Linked DNA regions of Homo sapiens: regions 1 and 3 are each linked to region 2. Evidence: promoter capture Hi-C in 16 types of primary human blood cells and fetal thymus (Javierre and others, 2016). All regions are on one chromosome and are shown on one strand. Each heading gives the region's core, a stretch centred on a gene start or on the middle of the fragment in contact. The rest is flanking DNA. Distances are from core to core; before and after follow the strand shown.

Region 1 (3,799 bases), core at 223-2,722, 190 kb after region 2:
GGTTGCTCTCAAAATTTCCTCAACTTTCCTTCTCATACCACTTAATCAGCCTGAGCTTTAATTGCCTGGATACTTGTCTGTTACCTCGTTGTCTACTCATCACTGCAACTCCAGTGCCTAGCTCAGAATCATCAGATGGCAAGCACTCAGTTAACACACATGTTCAATCAGTAACCAGACTTTTGGTCCAGCCCAAGGTAGCCATCCTGATAAATGATGATGGAAAATACCTCTGCAAGCACTGGAGCCTCTCATCTCAAGAAACTCCAAGAGCATTTCTGAAGAGAGCAAATATCTAACCATATTATTTAACTTGATTTGTTTCAAATAATCAAAATAATCAGGGAGAATTTTCAGCCTCCAGGTGAAACAAACTATGTTTTCTAAAATTTGGTTAAATCAGTTATTTATTTTTAAAAAAATCAGAGAAATGGTCCGGGTGCAGTGGCTCATGCCTGTAATCCCAGCACTTTGGGAGGCAGAGGCGGGAGGATCTCAAGGTCAGGAGATTGAGATCATCCTTGCTAACATGGTGAAACCCTGTTTCTACTAAAAACACATAAAATTAGCTGGTTGTGACAGCACGCGCCTGTAATCCCAGCTACTCAGGAGGCTGAGGCAGGAGAATTGTTTGAACCCATGAGGCGGAGTTTGCAGTGAGCCGAAATCGTGCCATTGCACTCCAGCCTGGGTGACAGAGCGAGACTCTGTCTCTCTCTCACACACACACACACACACACAAAATCAGAGAAATGTAGATTTTCTAGGAAACTGCCAGTTAAGTTCATCTCTCCAGCTCTTAGTATGTGGCAGGCATTTGTTCTAAGGGCTTTATCCATGTTTACTAATTTAGTTCTCACAACATCAGATGAATGGGTACTACTGCTATGATCCTTTCCATCTAACAGATGAAGAAGCTGAGGAACAAAGAAGTTAAGTAGCTTTCCCAAGCCCACACAGCCAGCAATTTGAGAAGCTAAAAATCAGAACCTCAAGCTATCATTACACTCCACTGTCCCCTGAGCTATGCTAAAATGCACTTTGCAGACCCCATACTTCAGGCATATCGAGACCACCCCTCATCATCAGAGCTGGCAGACAAACTCAGGTGCAGCCAGTGGGATTTAATGTACCTAAGAGGTGCGTGTGCATGTGTGTGTATCCATACCCACATTTTCCCAAAGAAATTGCTGTATTATTATGTCTAACACTTTTTATCATGGCTCCAAAGGAATCATCACATCCTAAAGAGAAGCCATGTTCACAGTTAAATGTTCCAAACCTCTACATAGCAACCAAACAGAGACCTTTGCAGACATCCCCAGTAGTCCACTGGGAGGCATTTTAACGAAAGATATAAAAGAAAGGGGAATGTCTATGGAGAGGGAATCTATACCTTGGAGGCTTCAGGCTTTGGCAGACGGCTTTCCTCCCAAGTCCACCTTGTCGCAAGTAGGAGACACTCAGAAAAGATCACTACAGCATCTTTTCCCGATAACGGAAGCCTCCACAGACTTAACGTTATCTTTGCCTTATGCAACACTTTAGAGGACTTGGTGAAAGTGTTTTGCGGGCTGACTGACCAGTGTGCTAATCACATCTGCATTTGGGGCCTCGCTGATCCATTGTGTTTCCCCAGGGCTTAGTGATGATTAGGAAACTGGTGTGAGGGATAACTGTCTTCTGGCTTTCAGATGTTGCTTAACACATTGCTGGAACAGGAAACACAAGCAACAATATGGGTAGACAAGTGGGAAGAGGTTGTGGGTTGGAGGTAGAACAGTGTTAGGTGCATAGCAAGAAGAGACAAAGTCACACTGTAAGAGAAGCATCTGGAGGAGGGAGGTGGTCACTCAGGCACTTATTTTACATGATGTGCCAGCAACGGTGCTATGTACCTTATATGCGTGATGACATTCAATTCTTACATGCTTAGAGAGGTTAATTACTTTGCCCAATATCACAGATATAATAATAATGCTAATTATTGTTTAAATGTATTAAATGGTTACTACATACAGGTCATTGTTCTGAATGCTTTACATATGTTAATTCATCTCATCCTCACAATAACCCAGGACCCAGGTACTACTATTAACCCGATGTTATGGTAGAGAAAACTATGGTATAGAAATGTTACCCAGCTTTCCTAAAATTTAACTGGAAAAGCCCTGTGCAAAATCTCTGTTTTGTACAATGGTGAAGCCCGAAGTGTGCCTGTTATCCTAATATGATTGTTAAAACCCCTCCTTTCAGTTTCTTTTTTGTTTTTTGGTTTTTTTAGGTTTTTTGTATTTGTTTGTTTGTTTCGTTTGTTTATTGAGATGGCGTCTCACTCTGTCATCCAGGCTGGAATGCAATGGTGCAATCTTGGCTTACTGCAACCTCCGCCTCCCGGGTTCAAGCAATTCTCCTGTTCCAGCCTCCTGAATAGCTGCAACTACAGGCATGCACCACCACTCCCAGCTAATTTTTGTATTTTTAGTAGAGACAGGGTTTCACCGTATTGGTCATGCTGGTCTCGAACTCCTGACCTCCGGTGATTCACCTGCCTCAGCCTCCCAAAGTGCTGGGATTACAGGCATGAGCCATCGCGCCCGGCCTCCTTTCAGTTTCAAAAGTGGCCAAATTATATGCTTATCCTAAATAAATGTCCTAAAATAGGCAATAGAAAGATCAGAGCCAAGTGACAAGGAGTAAGGAAGTAGGTAACGTGAAGATTCAAACCACAATCCTTATGAAGGTCACAGGGCCAGGCCTGAGAGAAAGAATGAGGGCACAGCCCCTGATCCATGCCCCAGGGGAGTCTGTGAGACAGAGAAGAATGTTCACAGCAAGGAAAGCGAGGTCCTAGTCCTACAAACAGGAGCGTCAGTGGGGACGTGATCACAGGAAAGAGAAAGAGGGCCAGTTACCAAGACCAAAACATAGTGTGTGGGCAGAGATTGTGAATATGAAATGAGCAGGGGCCCAGTTGCCAGAAAATTTCTGCACAGGTGCTTCTGCTAAGAGAGCTGGCACCTGAGCCCTAGGGCAGCGGCTCTCCAGGGTCTACATTTAGGAGCGAAGGAAGGGACTGATGAAAGAGAAGACAGAGACAGAGACAGAAGTCAGAAGGAAATAGCCAAAAGGAAGGTGGTAAAGATAAGATCCTTCCCTCCCCGTTTTATCCAGAACCATTGCAAATGGAATACTGAAGAAGAAAGAGATGACAAGAAAATGCCTTCAGCGAAGAAGAGAAAGAAATCTGAAGAAATGAAAGGAAAGAGTGGATGCTTTCAACATGCTCTTTTTGAATTTGGAGCTGTAGAAAAAGCCATGAAAGGAAGTTACTTAAACTCTAAGACTTCGGTTCTCCCATTTGTAAGTTGAAGATCATAGTGCCCACTTTGGGGTATAAAGTATAAATGACAGAATGCATGTAAAGGTCTTAATAACTAAGATCTTCACATGAGTTCAAAGTAAATAATAAAAATGATTGAGCTCTTTCTTCAATTCCTTAGAGAATGATTGTGAGAAACTGCTTTCAAAGGAAGATTCACAAATAAAAATTTAATATACTTACCATGTACAACATGTTTTGACACATGTGTGCATTGTGAAGTCACTAACACAAAGCAGATAATCTACTGATCACATCAGATCACATAATCATCTTTTTTTTTTTTTGGTGGTGGTGGTGAGAACATTTAAGATCTCCTCTCTTAAACTTCAAGTACATAGTACAGTATTAACTTCAGTTATCATGCTGTTCATTAGATCTGCAGAACATATGTATCTGACTGTACCTCATTAAAGC
Region 2 (3,602 bases), core at 85-2,584:
TCCTAAACATCTTTCAAATCCATTCATTCTCTCCAACTTCACTAGCATCATAGGTAGTTCAGTAACCATCATCCCTTCCCTAGAGAACTGCCTCTTTCTTAACCCTAACTCCCTGATTTCAGTATTATTTATTCCTATTGTTGCTTTACATGAAAACCAGGACAATATTTCTGAAATATAACCCATTTAATTCTGAGAATTAAAATAATTTCAGATTATAGACAACAAAGTTTTTGGGATTAGGCAAAACTGGATTTCAATCTCATCTATACCAGCTATATGAATATCTCTGAGTTTCAGTTCCATCTTCTGGAAAATGGGAATAATAATGTTACCTAGCTCCATCCTTCTTCCATTTGTGTGTCTTTTGCTTATTCATCAGGTCTCCAATTAGATGTCCCTTTATCTAGGAAGTCTCCTCTGCCTACCTACCCAACGTTGAGTTCTTTGATCCTCCTATGAGCTCTCTCAGGATATCCAATTTTACCTTGCAGATCACTGATTATAATGGGTTGTAATGATTTATTTATTCATCAGCATTGCCACTTTACCTTGCAGGTAACTGATTATAATGGGTGATTTATTTACTTGTCTATATTGTCAAGTAGCCTATAAAATCCTTGAGCGAAAATCATTTTTCACCATTTTATCTGAAGCACATGGCACACTGCTTGGCTTATAGTAGCTTTTCTCTAAGAAAATGCTGAGTGAATGAAAATTGCATGCCACTTTGCTTTCCTCCATGTAAAGAAGGCATTATTTTATTTTACCAATGAATCAGGTTCAGGGGATTAACAAGGTCATACAAGAAATGATTGCCATTGGGTTTGTCTTAGTCAAAGACCAGCTTGTTCTATGATACCAGCTGCTTCTTTGACTTAGAAAGGTGTTGTATTAATTATTGCTGTACAACCAACTTGTTCCCATTTTGTGGCTATTCATGTTGAACCTCCAAAGGTGAAATATCATGAAAATAAGATATTTAAGTTGTGTATATTAAGGCACAATTACTTTTTCACCAACCTAATACAATAGTAACAGTAGTTCTCTGGGAAGAAGAGTACTGTGGAAATGTGTGAAATTGTGAAAGGGGGCATTTATAAATTACCATTTACTTAGTTGTGTATATAACAATCTTTGAGCAGAGTCTGGCAAACAGAAAATCCTCCACCACTGATACCCACAGTAATTAGCACTATTATTTTCATAGGAAAGACTGTATCAGGCAGCCACTGCTTTTTCAGCAAATTTCAAAATAAACGTCCACACCCATATTGGGAACGCAAAATCAGTTAATGCTTCCGATAAAAAAGAGGAACTAGTTGTGTGTCTCAGAAGTTCTCAACACATCCTTTAAGGTTCCAAACATCTACTAGAAAAGGAGTGCAGATTTAAACTGAGTGAGGTGTGGAGTGGGGGAAGCTGACTGTGTCTGGAACAAAGAACTTTGAGGAACTTGCCCAGAGCCCTGCACTCATCAGACCTGCAGCAGACATTGCAGGCCTGAAGAAAGGTAGGTCCAGGGACTTGCCTTCCTAGGCTCTCGGACTGATAGTTTGTTTCATTTCCTGGGTTTAGGATTTCTGGGAGTGGAGTGAGAAAAAAAAATGAGGTCACTTCCCATGACCCAAGCTGGTAGTCAGGGTTGGGGTGGATTGAGTGCACATTTAAATATGCATTTGGTGAGGGTTGTGGGTGGTTGAGGAACAGTCTTCGCTACAGTTGATGGGAGTTAGAAAAGCCTCCTAAAGGCTGACACTGGAGGCTGGATGAAGTTGTTTTAGTTACTTTTGTTCCGTAAGTTCTCAGGATACCAAAACACTGTAAGCAACATTTTAAACTTTGATTAATTACCTCATCTACTGTTAATGCACTTCTTCCATGGTCTTTATTCTTTGTCTCTGACTGGTTATTTTTATAATTCAAGACTTAAGAAAAGATCTAGCACGTGCAGAATTTGGTGTACATGGAGTAGGGCACAGGCAGGGTCCCCAGCCTTGTACATTTAGATGGGCTGTGGCCTGACGTAGTTCTCCAGTGGTCTTTGGCACTATTCATGTGGCACCCAGGCAGTAAACTGAGGCTGCTCATGATAAAATCTGCAAATGAAAAACATCTTGTAGACTTTTAGCATTCTTAGGATAAGAAAGAAGCTTGTAAGTAGTCGTAGTCATTGTAATCTTTCCCCAGATGAAGTAAATGAAATCCAGAAAAGGGAAATAATGTACCTAGAATCACACAAGTTAACAAAAGGGCTAGGAGCAAAAAACCCAGAATTCTTGGTTCCTAGCCCAGGCCTTTCCCCCTTTTCCCTTCCCATGCCACCATTTCTGCATCCCCATCATCCTCCTAAAAACCATCCAGATTCAGGCCTCATTTTGGGTTTCTAGTCTATTTGATAACTCTGCCAAGAAAAAGGGGATGACCGTGTATACCACTCTCCTCATGCTCTCTTGTGTTGTGACCCATAAGGGGGATGGTGACATAAAAATGAGGAAACAAGAGACTGCTGGTGCTGCTGATCCACAAGGAGACTGGGGCCAATAGAAGAGGGAAGGGTGGTCTAGGTTACCCCACCTCTTTATCCGGGGTGGGGAGGAGGGGCGGGGAAGACATTGTAGTTGTCAAGAACCTGATGCATATAGGTGATGTGGCAAAACCAAGGTTTAGATTCTTCTCCAACCTGAAAGAAATGTCCCTCCCTCATATGTATCCAATATTCTCTGCAGTTAAAAAATATATATTTTGATTGTAGAGAAGTGGAGTCTTGTAAACACACGCTTTCTTTCCTTGGGGACCTTATCTACCCTAGATAATTAACACATGGATTTCTGTGGTGTAAAGATAGGAGGCAGTTATATAAATTTATGTCAAGAATGTCTTATAAAGACAGAGCACCAGCCTTGAATGACCAGAACCTGACCTATGTTACCAAAGAATTATGGAAAATCATAAGAGTCAATTATAAGCCTTAATTTGATATAATGGCTCGGCCCTCAGGAAGCTTACAGCCTTACCCGAGAGGCACTAAACACAGAGGGAGAACTACCAAGTGTGTTTGATAAGACAGACCCAACATGTCCTAAATTCTCAGTCTGAAGGTGTGCGTGAGAGATTGAGGCCGAGTTTCCCTTACATTAAAGAATAGGCCGGGTGCGGTGGCTCACGCCTGTAATTCCAGCACTTTGGGAGGCCCAGGTGGGTGGATCACGAGGTCAGAGGATCGAGACCATCCTGGCTAACACGGTGAAATCCCTTCTCTACTAAAAATACAAAAAAATTAGCCAGGCGTGGTGGCAGGCGCCGGTAGCCCCAGCTACTCTGGAGGCTGAGGCAGGAGAATGGCGTGAACCCGGGAGGCGGAGCTTGCAGTGAGCCGAGATTGCACCACTGCACGCCAGCCTGGGCAACAGAGCGAGACTCCGCCTCAAAATAAATAAATAAGTAAATAAATAAATAAATAAATAAATAAAAAGTACACATTTAGATGGACTAAGAAGAATTATCTTCAGTTTCTTTCAAAATAACTTTGGTTTCTGTGGTGTAAAAGGAAAATAACATAGATTTCTTAAATCCTTAGTTACCACTAGAGGTTGAGTAAT
Region 3 (3,822 bases), core at 377-2,876, 200 kb after region 2:
CCATTCTCCTGCCTCAGCCTCCCGAGTAGCTGGGACTACAGGCTACAGGCACCCGCCATCACGCCTGGCTGACCTCGTGATCCGCCCACCTTGGGCTCCCAAAGTGCTGGGATTACAGGCGTGAGCCACCGTGTACCCAGCCTGTTTTTCAGACGGAGTTTTGCTTTTTTTTTTTTTTTTTTTTGAGACAGAGTCTCGCTCTGTCACCCAGGCTGGAGTGCAGTGGTGTGATCTCAGCTCACTGCAAGCTCCGCCTCCCGGGTTCAAGTGATTCTCCTGCCTGAGCCTCCCGTGTAGCTGGGATTACAGGCGCCCACCACTACACAAGGCTACTTTTTGTATTTTTAGTAGAGACGAGGTTTCACCATGTTGGCCAAGCTGGTCTCGAACTCCTCCTGACCTCTGGTGATCCACCCGTCTCGGCTTCCCAAAGTGCTGGGATTACAGGTATCAGCCACCGTGCCCAGCCAGAAACTCAGTTTTAGTCTGACGTTCTATCAAATAGCTGAGAAAAGCCTGAGAAACACACATAGATACTTTCACTGCAGCAGAATCTTCCTTTGCTCAGGCTTCCTGAAAGACAGTTAGGGCCTAAACACCCTACCCACCCTAAATAGCCAGAATTCACAGTGGCTCTTTCTCTCCATGTGCTGTTCATTTCAATAATTAACTGTTAACTGTTACCTGGTGAGCTTCACTGATCTAGGCATTCTTAAAATTCATCTTAGGTAAAATGGAAAAATATCAGGAGCTATATGTGATCTTTGCTTCCAAAGGTATTACAGGCCAAATGGGTAAGAAATTGACGTATCAGTTTCAAAGAAAAACCCCCTTTCAAATTACCAAAAAAAGTCTACAAAAAGAAACCATAAAGAACATAAAAAGTAATATTGAAATGCTACTTTACAGATTACATTTAGTCAGGCCTTGGAGCTGGCAAGCATTTGGATTCCAGGCAAAACAGAAAAGATACATTGGAATCAACTTGTAGACAGCAACGCGCTGACTTAGCTTTCTCCTATTAACTTTGCAGAACCGTTGATGAGTTTAACATGGGTGAAGTTCAGAGCAGTCTTTTTAAGGGAACAAAACAGCAATAATATCAGCATTAAGCAAAAATATGAGTCTGGAAGCAGGAAGATCAGCTAAGATGCAACTGAATATCTTACAATGTGATACAATCAAGCACCAGTAATTGGCAGGGGTTTGAAATGTTAGACTGAAAGAGAGCCAAGGACTATTCCTGAAGAACCTCTGAAAATGAGTCTCAAGTTAGAGAGAAGACCAAAACAGAGAGAGAGAGAAATAAAAGCCTGAGAACTGGGACATTTAGGCAGAAAGAGAAAATGTATCCTCCGTATATTGACACAAGTCTACTTGGCCTGAAAGCGCTTCTTCTTCTAGCCAGTTAGAATAAGATCAGATTTCTTCAGGGAGTAAAACACCTGCATGGAAAGCGATCATTATGATTAACTCCTTCGAGGAAGCATTCTCTAAAACTTGTTATTTACCATGGAGGTTCTCAGCACCGGTCCAAATCAAGACAGCGAGGAGCATCAAGACTTCTAACGCCATGGAGACCTTCGTCTGAGCAGACCTCCAGCACAGGACAACTCAGGAAACAAGGAGTGGCGACTGGTTTAAGTGATTTTTATATGGCATCCCATGCTCAGCTGCGTTCGTTTTCCTCCTTATTTGGGTAGTTCACAGGATGCTCTTATCACAGTGTCAGCTACCTAAAGGCTGAGACTCTCTTGATTATCCAAACACTGAAGCTCAAAGAGACATATCAAGAAAAAAGTGTTATTTGATAACAGTCTTTACAAGTCCTGTTACAAACATCAGGAGGATGGCATGGCACACAATGCTTCCAGTAAATACTAAATTACAGGAAACTGTTCTTACTAGCTAACGTTCAGGTGTTTTAAGTTTCCATCTAATATGAGAACAGCCTAGATCTTTCATACTTGAAATCAAAAGACTATTATTTCTTCATTTCTATGGGTTTGGCTGGAAGAAGCAAAGCAGACATGATAAACTGACTTGACCAGGAACATAAATCTCTAGGAGGGGACAGGCACCCAAAGGAAAGTCAAGTCTATTGGTATTAGGAAAGTTGACAATTCCCTCTCTGTTGATTCTTTCTAAATTAAGGTGTTGGTAACTTTAGTCATTTCAAACCTGAGACAAGAGAATATTTTATATGCATATATATACACATAACTGTATATGTATAATAATTTATATTTATGATTTTTTCAATACTGAAGTAGAATAAAAGTTCCAGCCAAAGATTTTTATTGTATTTTTTTAAAATGTTAGTCACGGCCTGAATGTGACTGCGTGGTTTTAAGGGTAATTGAAAATCAAAGGCTAACAGTAAATAAAATTCAAAGAGGCTGAATTAAATGCCTATTATTGCTTTTAGTCATATCTGAATTATATTTTCAATGTTACAGTCTGCTGTCAAATGACTACATGCACAGAGCTTCCCTATGCATTTAAGAAGGACTTCTATTTCTGACATTACATTCTCTTGTGGACAGTGAGATCCCCAAAGCTGTGACCCACACAGTGCTCTGCATCAGGAAAGCCTGGAGAATCCAGTCGCCCAACCACCAATGGGGAAAGAGTATTAGAGAAAGAGAAGGGCAAGTCTACATGTTATTTTTTCATCTTTCATTTCTTTAAACATTTTTCTGATGTTAAGAACATTTTCAGGATCTAAAATTTATTAACTTCATATGCAGCTTTTAAATCTTGCCTATGTAAACATCTAATATTGTTCCAAAAGGAATCATTGGCCAGTTTCTTGTATTTCAGTTTGAGAAAGTTAAACAAGCTAAGGCTGCTGTTCATACGCTGTAAAAAGGAGATATATTCTCTCTAAACTTATTGTGAATAAGACATAGCAAATGTAAACTGTCTTGCTCAAGTCAATAGCGTACAAAAAATATCTAATATATGACTATTTCCTGTATCTTGAAGCACAGTTAGTAACAGGACTTTATGCAATGTTTCAAGGATTACTCAAAGCCGCAGAATGAACAAAGTTCATTTTCCAAAAATTCCAATTTTAATACAGAATTTTACTGTGAAACAGTAATGGAATTTAAATATAACTTTAATGTAAAATGGAGATAAAGCAGAGATAAAACAAATATTTTAAAACAATTTATAACTTAGGGAAATGTTGCAACTATAGTACAAAAAAACTTTCTTTTTCCTGGACCTTTTGAGAGCAGGTTGCTGGTAAGATGTTCCCTTGACTGTAAATATTTTGAAGTATATATCCAACAAATAAGGCCATTCTTCTACTAGAGTGCTTCTCAATAATTGGAACTTAGATGATGGAGGGGTCCATGGGATCAGATCTATTTTCACAATAACACATTTTCTTTTTCATAATGTCGACATTTGCACAGGTGTGCAAAAACAGTGGTGGGAAATGCTCCTGCCTCTTGAGCACCAATCAAGGTAGTAGCATAAGAATGTGTTAGTTTGTTAGTCACCATTGTATTCTTCACCCCTGTGCACTCACAGTAAAGGGAAAAAGCCAGTTTCACTTAAGTCTTGAAGCAGTAAAAAGTATCTGTTTTATTAAATGCCAACCGTTGAATGCATGCCTTTTTACTATTCAGAGTGATAAAATAGAAAGTATGCATAATACACTTTTGCTGCGTATCAAAGTATGAAGAGTGTCTCAAGGAAAATCTGTGCAGTTATTGGAGCTGTGAGCTGAACTAGCCACTTGTTACATAGAACACCATCTTTACTTAAAGAATGACTATCAGACAAACAATGATTATTCGCCCGTGGGTA

The links. The method cuts DNA at HindIII sites, captures the fragments that hold promoters and counts their contacts. A CHiCAGO score of 5 or more calls a contact.
Region 1: the fragment with the promoter of MS4A3 here is called in contact with the fragment with the promoter of MS4A4E in region 2 in 2 of 17 cell types (neutrophils and total B cells); the score reaches 8.0 in neutrophils.
Region 3: the fragment with the promoter of OOSP2 here is called in contact with the fragment with the promoter of MS4A4E in region 2 in 3 of 17 cell types (erythroblasts, naive CD8 T cells and fetal thymus); the score reaches 9.0 in erythroblasts.

Annotation. Positions count from the first base shown.
Region 1 is chr11:60,054,338-60,058,136 of GRCh38, reverse strand. It overlaps MS4A3 (membrane spanning 4-domains A3), which reads right to left and starts at 1,472. Exons shown (of 7, transcript NM_006138.5): 1 at 1,397-1,472. The HindIII fragment of the contact is 11,991 bases long and covers 1-3,799 here.
Region 2 is chr11:60,240,869-60,244,470 of GRCh38, reverse strand. It overlaps MS4A4E (membrane spanning 4-domains A4E), which reads left to right and starts at 1,334. Exons shown (of 9, transcript NM_001393391.1): 1 at 1,334-1,513. The HindIII fragment of the contact is 3,157 bases long and covers 1-2,155 here.
Region 3 is chr11:60,038,213-60,042,034 of GRCh38, reverse strand. OOSP2 (oocyte secreted protein 2) reads right to left here and starts at 1,626. Exons shown (of 4, transcript NM_173801.5): 1 at 1,512-1,626. The coding sequence starts at 1,575. The HindIII fragment of the contact is 6,208 bases long and covers 1-3,822 here.